Linked DNA regions of Homo sapiens: region 1 is linked to region 2. Evidence: promoter capture Hi-C in 16 types of primary human blood cells and fetal thymus (Javierre and others, 2016). All regions are on one chromosome and are shown on one strand. The core of a region is centred on a gene start or on the middle of the fragment in contact, and the rest is flanking DNA. Distances in the headings are between cores, read along the strand shown.

Region 1 (5,617 bases), core at 613-3,112, 9.8 Mb after region 2:
TACCTAGAAGAAAAAAAAATCAGTGAAATCATGTCTTAGTTCCATAGGATTTTTACAAAAATACTTGACTTTCACCCACCTACATCACCAGACTTGGGCTCAAACAGCAGTTTTGTTATTTTCAAATAAAATCCATCCTCAAAGGATGATTACTATTTAAAAATTCTAAAAATAACCATGGCCCAGGGAGGGAAAGCTTTCTTAGAAGCCTTAAGGTGACTGTTACACAGGGAACAATGCTATGGAATGTGTACGTTTATGTGTCTTTTAAAATAAAAACAGTGCCATTACCGTATTTCACAGCCTGTCATCACCCTGGTGCAGCAGCGCACCCTGGCTGCTGAAAGGCTGCTAGTCCAAGTTTCTTCAGGGTGTACCCTCAACAAAACACACCCCCGGGAGGGGGAGGAGTGAAGAAGCCCTTGGAGAAAGGGCAGAAGCCAGATCACAATAAACATCCATTCGAACTGGCACACAGAAGGCCTTAATAACCTTGAGGTTTGGTTACTGGTTAGTAGTAAGCACGCCGATCTTCCAGTCCCCTTTTCCCCCCATCTGACTAAGGATTTTGACTCCAAGTAAAAGGGACCTCAGGATAGTATCTAATGTAGGGGCCTTTTGTGCCACGTTGATTTATGGCATTCTTTAGTTGTTTCTCGAGTGGGAGTCTCACGTCTGGGGGACTTTGTGCCACCAGACAGCAAGGGGCTGCAGACTATGAATCTATCCCTCCTTCCCCGCCAAAAAACCCCCCAAACAAAACAAAAACATTACGCATGTTGGTTACAAGCCTGACTCCCCTATGCACTCCTAAAGCAGTAACAGAAACGGTCTCCTCGTGCTGGGGCCTATGTGCCAGGAACCATGCCAGGACTCCACGCACAGTATCCTTTGTAAGGGACAGCTGAGAGCCCCCCATTTACACCTGGGGAAACAGGTTCAGAGAGGCGCAGTGACTAGCCCAAGGTCATCTGGCCAGGGCAGCGGAGTGGCTGAAGCCGGAGCCCGCTCCGGGGGTGTGTCTGTCCCTGGACTCAGAAAGACAAGTCCCAACAGGACCCTGCCTCCTGGGCTGTTGGCGAATTTAAAATTGGGACGCACGAAGTCGCGGCCAGCGGCGGGGCCCCCTGGAAGTCGCCGCCCGATGAGCGGTAACTGTTGTTTATCAGTTGCAGTGAGCCTCACTGCGCAGCAAGGGAAAGCGAGTCAGGGCAAAGACGTGGGAGGGGACAGCTCCCAGTCCTAGCTGCGCAGAACCCCGCGGCCGCCCCTCCAGCCCAGGCCTCCGCTGAGTCGGCATTCCGCGCGTCCCTCTTTTGTCCCTACCTTCTTGTGATAGAGTCGGGCCGGGGCCGACAGCTCCCGGGCGGGCAGGCGGGGGCTCCGCAGCAGCAGAGCCGATGCCGCCCGCCTCAGACGGAAAGCCCCAGCCGCCGCCATCTTGCCGGCTTGCGCCTGCGCCAGTCCAGAGCGACGCCGAGGGGCGGGGCGCGTCTGCGAGTCGGCTCCGAGCTGGGAGCGCGCCTCTCTGACGTCACCGAAGCTTTGCGCCTGCGCTTTACCGCTCCGTGCACGCGTCCGCCTTCTGGCCCCGCCTTGACCACGCCTCTCGGGGGCGGGCGGGGTCGGGAGCGGGAAGGTCTGAAGTCGCTGGAGGGCTTGTCCTGGGTGCTGGATTCTGGTTGAGACAGGACCTCAGGGCTTCTGCAGTGTGGGGCTCAAGTTCGCTTTCACAAATCCCGCTGCGGGAATGCGGCGCAGAGGAGCACCGAGTCCACTTTTCCTAACCCTATTTTGCAGCTAAGGAAGCCGAGATTCAGGGCAGTTTAGTAAGTCCGTCCAAGGTCGCTAAGGACTTATGTTCAATTAGAATTCGAACTTGGGTAATCCTGGGTTAGAATCCTGGTTCGGTTCCTTCCTGGCTGTGTGTCCCTAGACGAATGGTACCGGCTCGCTGAGTCTGAATCTTCCCTTTTGTATTAATTCGAGGACAATTGCTTCATCATGAAGCCAGCATCTGTGTCGAGTACCTACTATGTGTCAAGGCGCTCTACTAGACCCGGGGATCCAACGGAAAGCAAAACAGACATAATTCCTGCCCATTAAGCCTGCTAATGAGGGAGCAAGGTAGAGATAGAGACACACACCAATACTTTCCTACCTCAAAAATGGGAAGCTTAAGAAGGAAACGAATACCATGTCCTGATTGAAAAAAAATGAATATGTCTATTTTTCTCTCTAAAACAACAGCAAACTCAATTTATATGTCAGTGCCTAGCAATTAAGAATTTCTAAAGAAATGCGTATTAATGTAATTTACTGTTGGTTTGCAGTATGTGATCTTATAAAACCGGAAAACTCACGTGTATTTAACGTCTACTAGGTACCAGACGTTTACATAAAGGGGAGGAATCTGGGAAATGGATTTTTCTCTTGAATGGTGAAATCGATCCTTCCCCGAGGACCTGCAGTTTTCTTTGCGTTTGAGGCGCAGTTGCTGGGGAGAGTAAACCCAAGCGCCAGGTCACACTAGGCGATAAGTAAGGCATTTAATCGAAGAATCACTTTGACCTTCTCAAGATGGCGCCAAATTCTTCACTACAGACATCACTCTCGCTCCATGACTTCCTCTATGGCTTCCACTTCCTGCCCAAAGACCCAACTTCTGTCCGAAGTTGTGACGGAACGCATGCCATTATAATGAGTTTTTATATCTGGTGGGAGCTTTTACAGGGTATAAAATAATGTGAATTTAGTGTATGTGGAGATTTTCCTGTTATCTAAGTTCCCAGTTTCTCTTTCAATGGCAAGAAAACGGGTTTTTGATAAGGCGCGCGCCGCGGGCAGCTTCTGCCTCAGCGGGTCTTCGGCGGCCGCGGGAAGACCCGAGAGTCATTAGAAGCGCAAGATGGCGACTGCGGCCGAAACCTCGGCTTCAGAACCCGAGGCTGAGTCCAAGGCTGGGCCCAAGGCTGACGGAGAGGAGGATGAGGTTAAGGCGGCTAGGACAAGGAGGAAGGTGTTATCGCGGGCTGTGGCCGCTGCGACATACAAGACCATGGGGCCAGCGTGGGATCAGCAGGAGGAAGGCGTGAGCGAGAGCGATGGGGATGAGTACGCCATGGCTTCCTCCGCGGAGAGCTCCCCCGGGGAGTACGAGTGGGAATATGACGAAGAGGAGGAGAAAAACCAGCTGGAGATTGAGAGACTGGAGGAGCAGGTGGGCCCGGGGGTGGGCAGCGGGCATCTTCCAGTCTTTCAGGTCCTCGGGTCCCCATGTCCTGGCCCGCCTCCCTAGTCCTCGGCGGCGATAAAGCCGCCAAGGCTGCAAACCCGCTTTTCGTGACAGTAGCTCCTGTCGGATTTGAGTGCTTACTGCCTGCCCATTGCCTTGCAAACGTTATCTCATTGAATCCTCGCCACGACCCTGTGAAGGAAGCCCTGTTATCTATCCCCATTTTACTGGAGGAAACTGAGGCTCGTGGAGGAAAGTTTCTTGCTCAAGATAACACTTCCTGCAAGTCAGGCCTTGTACTTTGATCCCATTCCAGAACTCCCACTCTTAACCACACGTCCAACAGTAGAAATAAACTCATTCGCAAGAGAGTGTTATTTTGTTATGTAGGAATGACGGCGATGATGAAACTTGTGGTAAGAAAAATATTGACCGCGATGGTGATAATAGAAATGGAAAGGTTTCTGGTTCTGGAGGTTAAGGCCTCAGTTCTAGCTGTTCAACTCTTGTATGTGCTTGTAAGAATTTCTTAATTTCTCTCACCCTCTCGACTTCCTTATCTGCAGATTGGGAGCAACAATTTCTGCATAATATAATTGTTGTAACAGTAACTATAGCTCAGTGCCTAGCATCTAGTCATAACATGGTCTCTCACTTGTAACCTTATGAGGTGGTGATATCTACTGTATAATCCAGGATCTCAGCAGGAAATAGGTGGCACATTTAAATTAGGATGATCTGAGAGAAACTCAATAAAGGTGTGGGTAGGGAAATCGGGAGTGAAGGTTTAGTATCCCATAGCTGGTAACTCCAGAACCTGGTGTCCATCTTTGGGCCGGAAGGGGTGAAGGGTGTGATCTGAATTGTGTGGAGAGGGCACCTGAGACCTGCTGATAACTTTGTTCAAGGGAAGCAGCCCCAGTTTCCTGTCAAGGATTGAGGTGGGGGAAGAAATACCCTGACCTCTCTTTCTTCCTCCCACCAAACTTCTGCTGGTGCCTCCTGCTGGGCAGACCCATCTGGAAGCTGGAGAGCCAGGAAACCTGTGCATGAGGTCTATACTCGGGGACACAGGGCAGGGAGGAGAGGGTAGGGTGTTTTTTGGAGGGGGCAAACAGAAGAGATGGAGCACATTCTCTCTTTTTTTTTTTTTTTTTTTTTTTGAGACAGAGTCTCGCCCTGTCACCCAGACTGGAGTGCAATGGCACCATCTCGTGTCACTGCAACCTCTGCCGCCCTGGTTCAAGCGATTCTCCTGCCTCAGCCTCCCCAGTAGCTGGGATCCAGGCACGCACCATTGCGCCCGGCTGATTTCTGTATTTTTAGTAGAGACGGGGTTTCACCATGTTGGTCAGGCTGCTCTTGAATTCCTGACCTCAGGTGATCCACCCACCTTGGCCTCCCGTAGTGCTGAGATTACAGGTGTGAGCCGCTACGCCCGGCCCGCATTCTCTTTTTACAGATGAAGAAACAGAGGTTCAGAACAAATGATGAAATGATTTCCTTTAAGTTATTCATAGTGGGATTTACACTTAAAATGTGGACTAGATGCCACACTGGATGTGAAATCACTCAGTGAATGTGAAGTTGCTAATCTAGTTTACTCATTAAACCTTACTGAGTGTCAGTTTCCTTATAATACTCTCTCTGGCACTGATATTTTTGTTATGAGATAGTGATGTCATCCATTGGTATAGCTTGTCCCACCCATTACATCTGATTGTCAGAGGAACCTGTTGGGGTTGGCAGGTGGTTAGCATTTCTACTTTTTTTTTTTTTTTTTTTTTTCTTTTTTGAGACGGAGTCTTGCTCTGTGGCCCAGGCTGGAGTGCAGTGGCACGATCTCGGCTCACTGCAAGCTCCGCCTCCCGGGTTCATGCCATTCTCCTGCCTCAGCCCCCCGAGTAGCTGGGACTACAGGCGCCCGCCACCAAGTCCGGCTAATTTTTACTATTTTTAGTAGAGATGGGGTTTCACCGTTTTAGCCAGGATGGTCTCGATCTCCTGACCTCGTGATCCGCCCGCCTCGGCCTCCCAAAGTGCTGGGATTACAGGCGTGAGCCACCGCGCCTGCCCTCTACTTTTTATAAATAAGTGTGCTGAAGCTAATTTAGTCTTACTCATTCAGCAAACACAGCGTGACACTGGGTACCAGATTGACTGTGTCCCTGCCCTTGTTGATGTCATTTCTTCAGACTGCTAGTCCTGGGCCTTTCGATGAGCCTATTCTGTGAGGTGGGGAAAGAGAGGTTTGGGACCAGAGAGGTTAAGTCCTTGGTGAGGGTACACAGCTTGCTAAAGAGCAAGAAAGGGGAGAGCAGAGGTCTCTGGCCACTAGTACTCTGCAGTTGCCTGTCCTGCCACAGATCACCAAGGATGGGG
Region 2 (6,494 bases), core at 1,171-3,670:
GGCCAGGTGCAGTGGCTCACGCCTGTAATCCCAGCACTTTGGGAGGCAAAGGCAGGTGGATCACCTGAGGTCGGGAGTTCGAGACCAGCCTGACCAGCATGGAGAAACCACGTCTCTACTAAAAATACAAAATTAGCTGGGGGTGGCGGCACATGCCTGTAATCCCAGCTACTCAGGAGGCTGAGGCAGGAGAATTGCTTGAACTCGGGAGGCAGAGGTTGTGGTGAGCCGAGATCGCGCCATTGCACTCCACCCTGGGCAACAAGAGTGAAACTCCATCTCAAAAAAAAATAAAATAAACAAAACAACAAATAAAACCACAAAAATTAGCCAGGCATGGTGGCAGGTGCCAGTAATCCCAACTACTCCGGAGACTGAGGCAGGAGAACTGCTTGAACCCAGGAGATGGAAGTTGCAGTGAGCTGAGATCGTGACACTGCACACCAGCCTGGGTGAGTGAGTGAGACCCCATCTTAAAAAAAAAAAAAAAAAGATTACTTACAATATCCAATAAAATGTAAATACTATGTAAGTAGTTGTTACGCTACACTGTTTAGGAATAACAAAAAAAAAGTCTGCACATGTTCAGTACAGATCCAATTTTTTTCCTGAATATTTTTGAGCTGCGCTTGGTTGAATTCACAGATGCAGAACCCACAGATACGCAGAGCCAACTGTATACAATAAAAAAGGGGAATCTGACACAAATAAATATTTTCCAAGTTACAACTAAAGGGAACAAGGAGGAGGCCAGATGATCAAACGAAAACTGTTTCAGAACATCTTAAACATTGTTCTTAGAACAAGCTAATGGCTGGGGTGTGTACAAAATTTTAATAGCCCCTATACTGGAAGGAAAAAAAAACTCAATTTTGGCTCCACAGCGCCCCCTCGTGGGTATGAGATGAAGTGCAAGTGCTTCACATTCAAAATCTCTGGTTAAGCCGTGTCTTCTGATGGAATTAAATCGAATGCAGTCCCTCAACTTTGTATGTCATGCATATGCAGCTGTCTTTTGTAAGGCTGTTGCAGATCCAATTCCCCACAAACCCTTCTCCCCTCCTTCAGTCAAGAGGCCTTCCCTGAGTTCCTGTCATGGTCAGCCACATTACTTGGCACTCGGGAAACTCAGATGAATAAAACGTAGGCCCCATTCCAAACAGCTGGTCTAGCTTTTGCTCCACGGCCCGATTTTGTCCCAGAATATTCCGCTCATATATCGGTCTCTCTTTGTTTCCTATTTCTCCTCCCTTGATCTCTCACATTTCATCACCTTCCTCCTCCTCCATCCCTCCAAAATAGCGTTCCTCACACTTGCCAAATTATAAAGCCCAGTTTGAAAAGCAAGGCTCTGAGACTCTGTGATGACAGTGCAAAGAGCGTGGGACTGAAAACACAACACCTGGGGACCATTAAGCAAATCTCTCCCTCTCTTACCTGTTTCCGGGAGGGGGGCGGGTGGGGAGAACATTTACGGAGTATTTACAGTACCAGGCCAAGTACTTTATGCGCATGTCATTTAATCCCTATACCGACCCTAGGAAGTGCCTTCTAGGGCAGGTGTGGGAATTAAACAGCTCCATTACAGTTGGGTAAATCGAGGCTGGAAAACTTAAGTTTACAAAGCTGAGTTAAGTGACAAAGCCAAATTTAAACCTGTATCTGGCTGGTTCTAGGTCCCTTTCCTTTAACCAACCTGAGTTCTCAATAGTGTACTACCTAAAGTATAGATGACTTATGCATTTCGGGGGTGGGGAGGGGCAACTTTGGACTCTGATGCTCTCACACACAAAAAAGGGGCGAACTACACTCGATGTATTCAGTAAATGAGTTTCTAATTCCTACTAGTGAGTGAGGTTCAATCAGAAACGGCTGGGAGGGAGGACGGGGTCTTAAAGGGACCCCCAGCGTGACAACATCTAAGTCCCCTCTCCCCATCACGGTCGAGTGTAACGCACCCAGGGCTTCCCCGCTACTCCAGCACGGATGGGGGTAACTTCCCCGAGCCCCGCAACTCCCGGCGGCCCCTCCACGCAGCCCCAGGCCCCGGAGGCCGCCCCGCCCCTCTCCCGAACAGCCCCACCCCCTCCCCCAGCGGTCCCACCTCCGCTCCGGGCGGCCGGGCGAGCGGCAGGACTCACCTTCGTCCGACTCGCGGCCCCGACAGCTGCGCTCGTCGTCCTCGGCGCTCTCCAGCTCTTCATCCTCCTCGGGGTAGTACTCGGGGGCCGGCGGCGCTCCAGCCTGGGCCGGGGCCGGGGCCAGCAGCCCCGCGGCACTCATGTCGCCTCTGACCGCAGCTGAGCGTGGCCCACGGACACCGCGGCCACCCGCGCTCGGTACTCGCCGTCTGCCTAGCAGTGTCCGCGGCAGCCCCCAACTCGAGGACCGGCAGCCACGGCGACCCCTTCCCCGTCTCCGCCGAGCTCCGCCCCCCGCGCCCGCGCTCGGCAACGGGGGCCTCGCGCCGCGAGCGACTTCCGGGTCGAGAGCTGCCCGACAACGGCCTGATTCCGCCATCCTTGGGGGAGTGGAGATGCCGCTGGACGCCCCCGTCGCCACAACCTCAGCCCTTTCATCGCCGTCTTAAAATCCTCAACGTATAGTGGGGGAGGGGCGGAGCCAGGTTCGCTAGAGTCAGGCAAATCTACGGGCAGGCCCAGCAGCGGTCAGGACCCCGAGGCTCGCAGGCGACTTCCGGAGACAGCCGCCAGGCGGCGCCTGGAGCTAGAACTAAAGCGGTGATCGTTAGCGACCTAGGGGCGGAGGGTTTGAAGGGCCCTTGGCAGGTGGAGGTGGTCTCTAATTTAAGCAGGGAACGACGCGACCTGCCCCCTTATTAGGTCGGAAAACCTAGACGTCCAGAGTGTGCGTGATCATGCAGCCTGGCTCCTCCTGTGACTAGTTAGAGCTTTATTAAGAGCTAAAAGACAAGGATGCTGATATTCCATCCTGGGGACAGCAAAATAGTATTTTCCCAGCCCTTAGGAATCCTTTCTGTTTGTGTAAGGTTTATTCGGTAAGATGTTCCCCCGGTTTTACAAATGAGAAACGAGCTGTCGTTTGCCTAAAAAAAAATAGTAACGTCCAGTCTGATTTTTTAGACTCCGAGACCCAGGCCCTCCGCGGTACAGCTGCCTTGAATATTAATTTTTTAAAAGGTGCTTTTGCTTAATCCAACAGCTTGCTCTGAGCTCTCAACTGAAGAAGGGGAGAATTTGCCTACCAGAAGTTATTTGGCTAAGGCCCACGTGGAAGCTTAAAAAACAGGAGAGCTGAGTATCTGCAAGAATTAATTTGTGCGATTCCCTCTGAGTAGAAAAGGAACACGGTGTTATAAGTTTTGCTGAACGAATAGATTTAAGGTGTCCCTTTAGCTAAGAGCAATGTGGTCTAGTTGTGTGTAGCGAGAAAAAAGGGTAAGGTTTTTAATGGTTTGTCCAAAGTAGCCCCACTTTTATGTTCCACCCGAGTCTCCGTAGGAAACGCAACCAGTAGTGAAAATGAACAGATGTGAAAACCAGGGTGGAACCGAATATTCCCATTCTCAGACCTTTTGTGATTAAATTTATCTCTGAATTGTTCCCTATGGACTCTTCTGAAAATGAAACGTTATTCTCATCCCACTTATTTTGACATTTATTTACTACCTTGTTTTAATTAAAATCTTGGCTCTATTTGTAAGTGATTTTTTCTCCCAACAAAACTAAAGAATTTCCAGAATGGAATGCTAAGATGTCTTTCCAGGAGTTCTGAGATCTTCTGAAGCCCCTTCTAAATAAGAATCATTCTCAGATCGCACCGTAGGTCTGCCATCTATATTTAAACTAGGATTCCAGAACTGTCTCTTGTCCAAAAGATGAAGTCATTTTCTTTCTTTGTGCTGTTGGAGAACATCTAAATTACTTGCAATCAACTATATTGAGTAACTTGCGTTCCTGTCAGTAGCAGTAATCATAGTGCAGAAAAAGCAAAGATTTTAGAAATCAAGAGTTCATTGATACAATTAATTTTTAAGTTTATTTCGTTGCTAAATGGTTTCCTTTCAAGACGCTGAGATTTTTATCCTGCTTATGTTTTACTGCTGTCTTCTTGACTGCAAACAGCATCTGTTAATGGTCATGCATTTCTTTTTTATATGTAATGAATAGACACAACTGAGCACTTGGGTTATGAAAACTTACCCCATTTTTTTCTGTCCAGATTGCCAGCTGCAGAACTAAAAAATGCTCTTTAGTGAAGGTGGACCTACTCAAAAAAATTCTCTTATGGCTTTAGTCTTACCTAACCTTTAGATTTATTTAATATGATTTTGGACAGTCGCTATACTCCTGTAAAAATCAAGTTCCCTCAAAACCAAGTTTTACCACCTTGAAATCTTTTTATATATCCCTTCTCAAAACGGTACTCAGCCACACCGCTCAGGAACTCGACTTGACTTGAAACGAAGCCCTGCCAGCCCCATTTCCACAACTTCTTTGCTTCCAGGCCTTCTCTGCCTACCCTAACACCCAAACTGAAACTTTAAAGGGGGACATCACAATTGGAATGGAGTATGATTCTTTTTTTTCTTTTTCTTTTTTTCTTTTTTTGAGACGGAGTTTTGCTCTTTCACCCAGGCTGGAGTGAAGTGATGCGATCTCGACTCACTGCAACCTCCGCCTCCGGGTTCAAGTGATTCTCCTGCCTCAGCCTTTCTAGTAGCTGGGATTACAGGTGGGTGCCACCATGCCCGGCTAATTTTTGTATTTTTCGTACAGACGGGATTTCACCATGTTGGCCAGGCAGGTCTGGAACCCTTGACCTCAGGTGATGAATGGCGTATGATTCTTAAAACACTAGAAGAAACATGTATACTGTTTAGAACACAAACACATTTTGTCAGCTGGAGTTAAAAAGTTAACAATCGAGGGTTCTCTGAGAACTAAGGCCTGTATACATCTGACAAAACTTAGGATCAAAATGTGTTCCTGAGACAATTTCTTCATAAAATGCTAAATTCTAAAGTCCATAAACTTACTTTTGGCGTTAAGAGTAAGGAAAGCAGTTTTCTGTTTCCGGTGTTGATTTGATCAGCATATCCAGTTTCACAAAAATAACACAAATGGGTCTTAGTAGCATGATGCACTTTCACCCCTGGCAGGCACTATCCTTTAGCGTGGATCAAGAGGAGTCTCTGATTATCACATGTTAAACCTGGGTCAAAGCTCGTTATCCTTTGGCCACACGTTCACATAGAATCATTAAAACCTGTGGCCCTGGAAAAAGGTTATATTGAATAGCTTTGCTGAAACCTTGTTAAGCTAATAATAGGGTTCCCCTACCACAGTCTTCCTACTGTCATAAAAACCTACAAACTGAAAATTTCTAAAGCTTTGTCCTTGCACCTATCAAAATGTGCCCCGCATTGAACGCTTAGTTGGGCAAAGTATGCACCTAGTACTGTATATAGATTTTTTTTCCCCCAACGGTATCAAACTGACGGCTGCTGAACTCAATTCAAGGAGAGGCAACTCCCTTGCAAGAGATTTTAAAAAGAAATGGTTTAAATCCAGGAAATTTTTACAAATCCTGGGCAAATTAATGCTATATTAGTTCATGGCAGAATTACTAAGAAAGCTGTGCAAGGTCTAGCGAGAGACTGGGGTCCTCCCCAAAGGCTCTAACATGGTGGTCCCTGGGAATCTCCCAAGAAAAGTAAAGGCGTGGGGAGAAGCGCCATGAACTTTGACCGGAGAGCAGCACAAACAAGACTGACCGCACCCCAGGCGGGCCCGTAGGTTACTAAAGTTGCAAGGTCTTCCGCGTCTGAGGAGACCCCGCCCTGCCCTGTCCCGCCCATCGACAACTCCGCCAATCCTCGGGTTCCATCGACCGCTCGGCTTCCCAGGCTCCATCAATCAAATACCTATATACGGCCCCGGCCCTGTGCCCCGCGATCAGGGAAGGTCAGTAGAGAGCCTATTGGAGCCGAGCTTGGGGCGTGGTCCGGGGCAGGGGGCGGGCGGACTGAGACGGTGGGGCGGGGCGTGCTCGGCGCAGTCCGGTGCGATTGGCCACCCCTGGCAGGAGCCGCACCTCGGACAGCAGCAGCGGCGGCGGCCGCGGGAGGGTCCTTGTGGCGCCGGGCGGCGGGGTCCTGCGTGGAGAGTGGGACGCAACGCCGAGACCGCGAGCAGAGGCTGCGCACAGCCGGATCCGGCACTCAGCGACCGGACCCAAGGATCCGCCGGGGAACAAGCCACAGGAGAGCGACTCAGGAACAAGTGTGGGAGAGGAAGCGGCGGCGGCGGCGCCGGGCCCGGGGGTGGTGACAGCAGGTCTGAGGTGAGAGCACCGGGGCGCGGGGCATGACAGTGGGAGCCGAGGCGGCGGGACCCCAGGCAGAGTGAGGGGAGTTGCGGGAGCGGGCTCGACAGTGCAGACTGTGGAGAGGAGACCCCGGGAGGGACCGGGACAGCGGGTGAGGAGAGGGGACTCCGAGAGGGACCGAG

What was found. The method cuts DNA at HindIII sites, captures the fragments that hold promoters and counts their contacts. A CHiCAGO score of 5 or more calls a contact.
Region 1: a fragment that was not itself captured here is called in contact with the fragment with the promoter of SUDS3 in region 2 in 3 of 17 cell types (naive CD4 T cells, fetal thymus and non-activated CD4 T cells); the score reaches 12.5 in naive CD4 T cells.

Annotation. Positions count from the first base shown.
Region 1 is chr12:108,558,446-108,564,062 of GRCh38, reverse strand. It overlaps SART3 (spliceosome associated factor 3, U4/U6 recycling protein), which reads left to right and starts at 2,890. Exons shown (of 19, transcript NM_014706.4): 1 at 2,890-3,220. The coding sequence starts at 2,909. ISCU (iron-sulfur cluster assembly enzyme) reads right to left here and starts at 1,467. Exons shown (of 5, transcript NM_213595.4): 1 at 1,327-1,467. The coding sequence starts at 1,440. RefSeq lists silencers at 238-287, 1,248-1,367 and enhancers at 978-1,047, 1,578-1,657, 1,728-1,787, 2,642-2,741, 2,752-2,811. The HindIII fragment of the contact is 633 bases long and covers 1,546-2,178 here.
Region 2 is chr12:118,372,481-118,378,974 of GRCh38, reverse strand. SUDS3 (SIN3A corepressor complex component SDS3) reads right to left here and starts at 2,420. Exons shown (of 12, transcript NM_022491.3): 1 at 2,142-2,420. The coding sequence starts at 2,283. LOC124903031 (a long non-coding RNA gene) reads left to right here and starts at 2,848. Exons shown (of 2, transcript XR_007063480.1): 1 at 2,848-3,019; 2 at 3,184-3,677. TAOK3 (TAO kinase 3) reads left to right here and starts at 6,068. Exons shown (of 21, transcript NM_016281.4): 1 at 6,068-6,327. RefSeq lists silencers at 2,024-2,173, 2,204-2,423, 5,945-6,194 and enhancers at 1,865-2,365, 5,575-5,624. The HindIII fragment of the contact is 4,103 bases long and covers 1-3,260 here.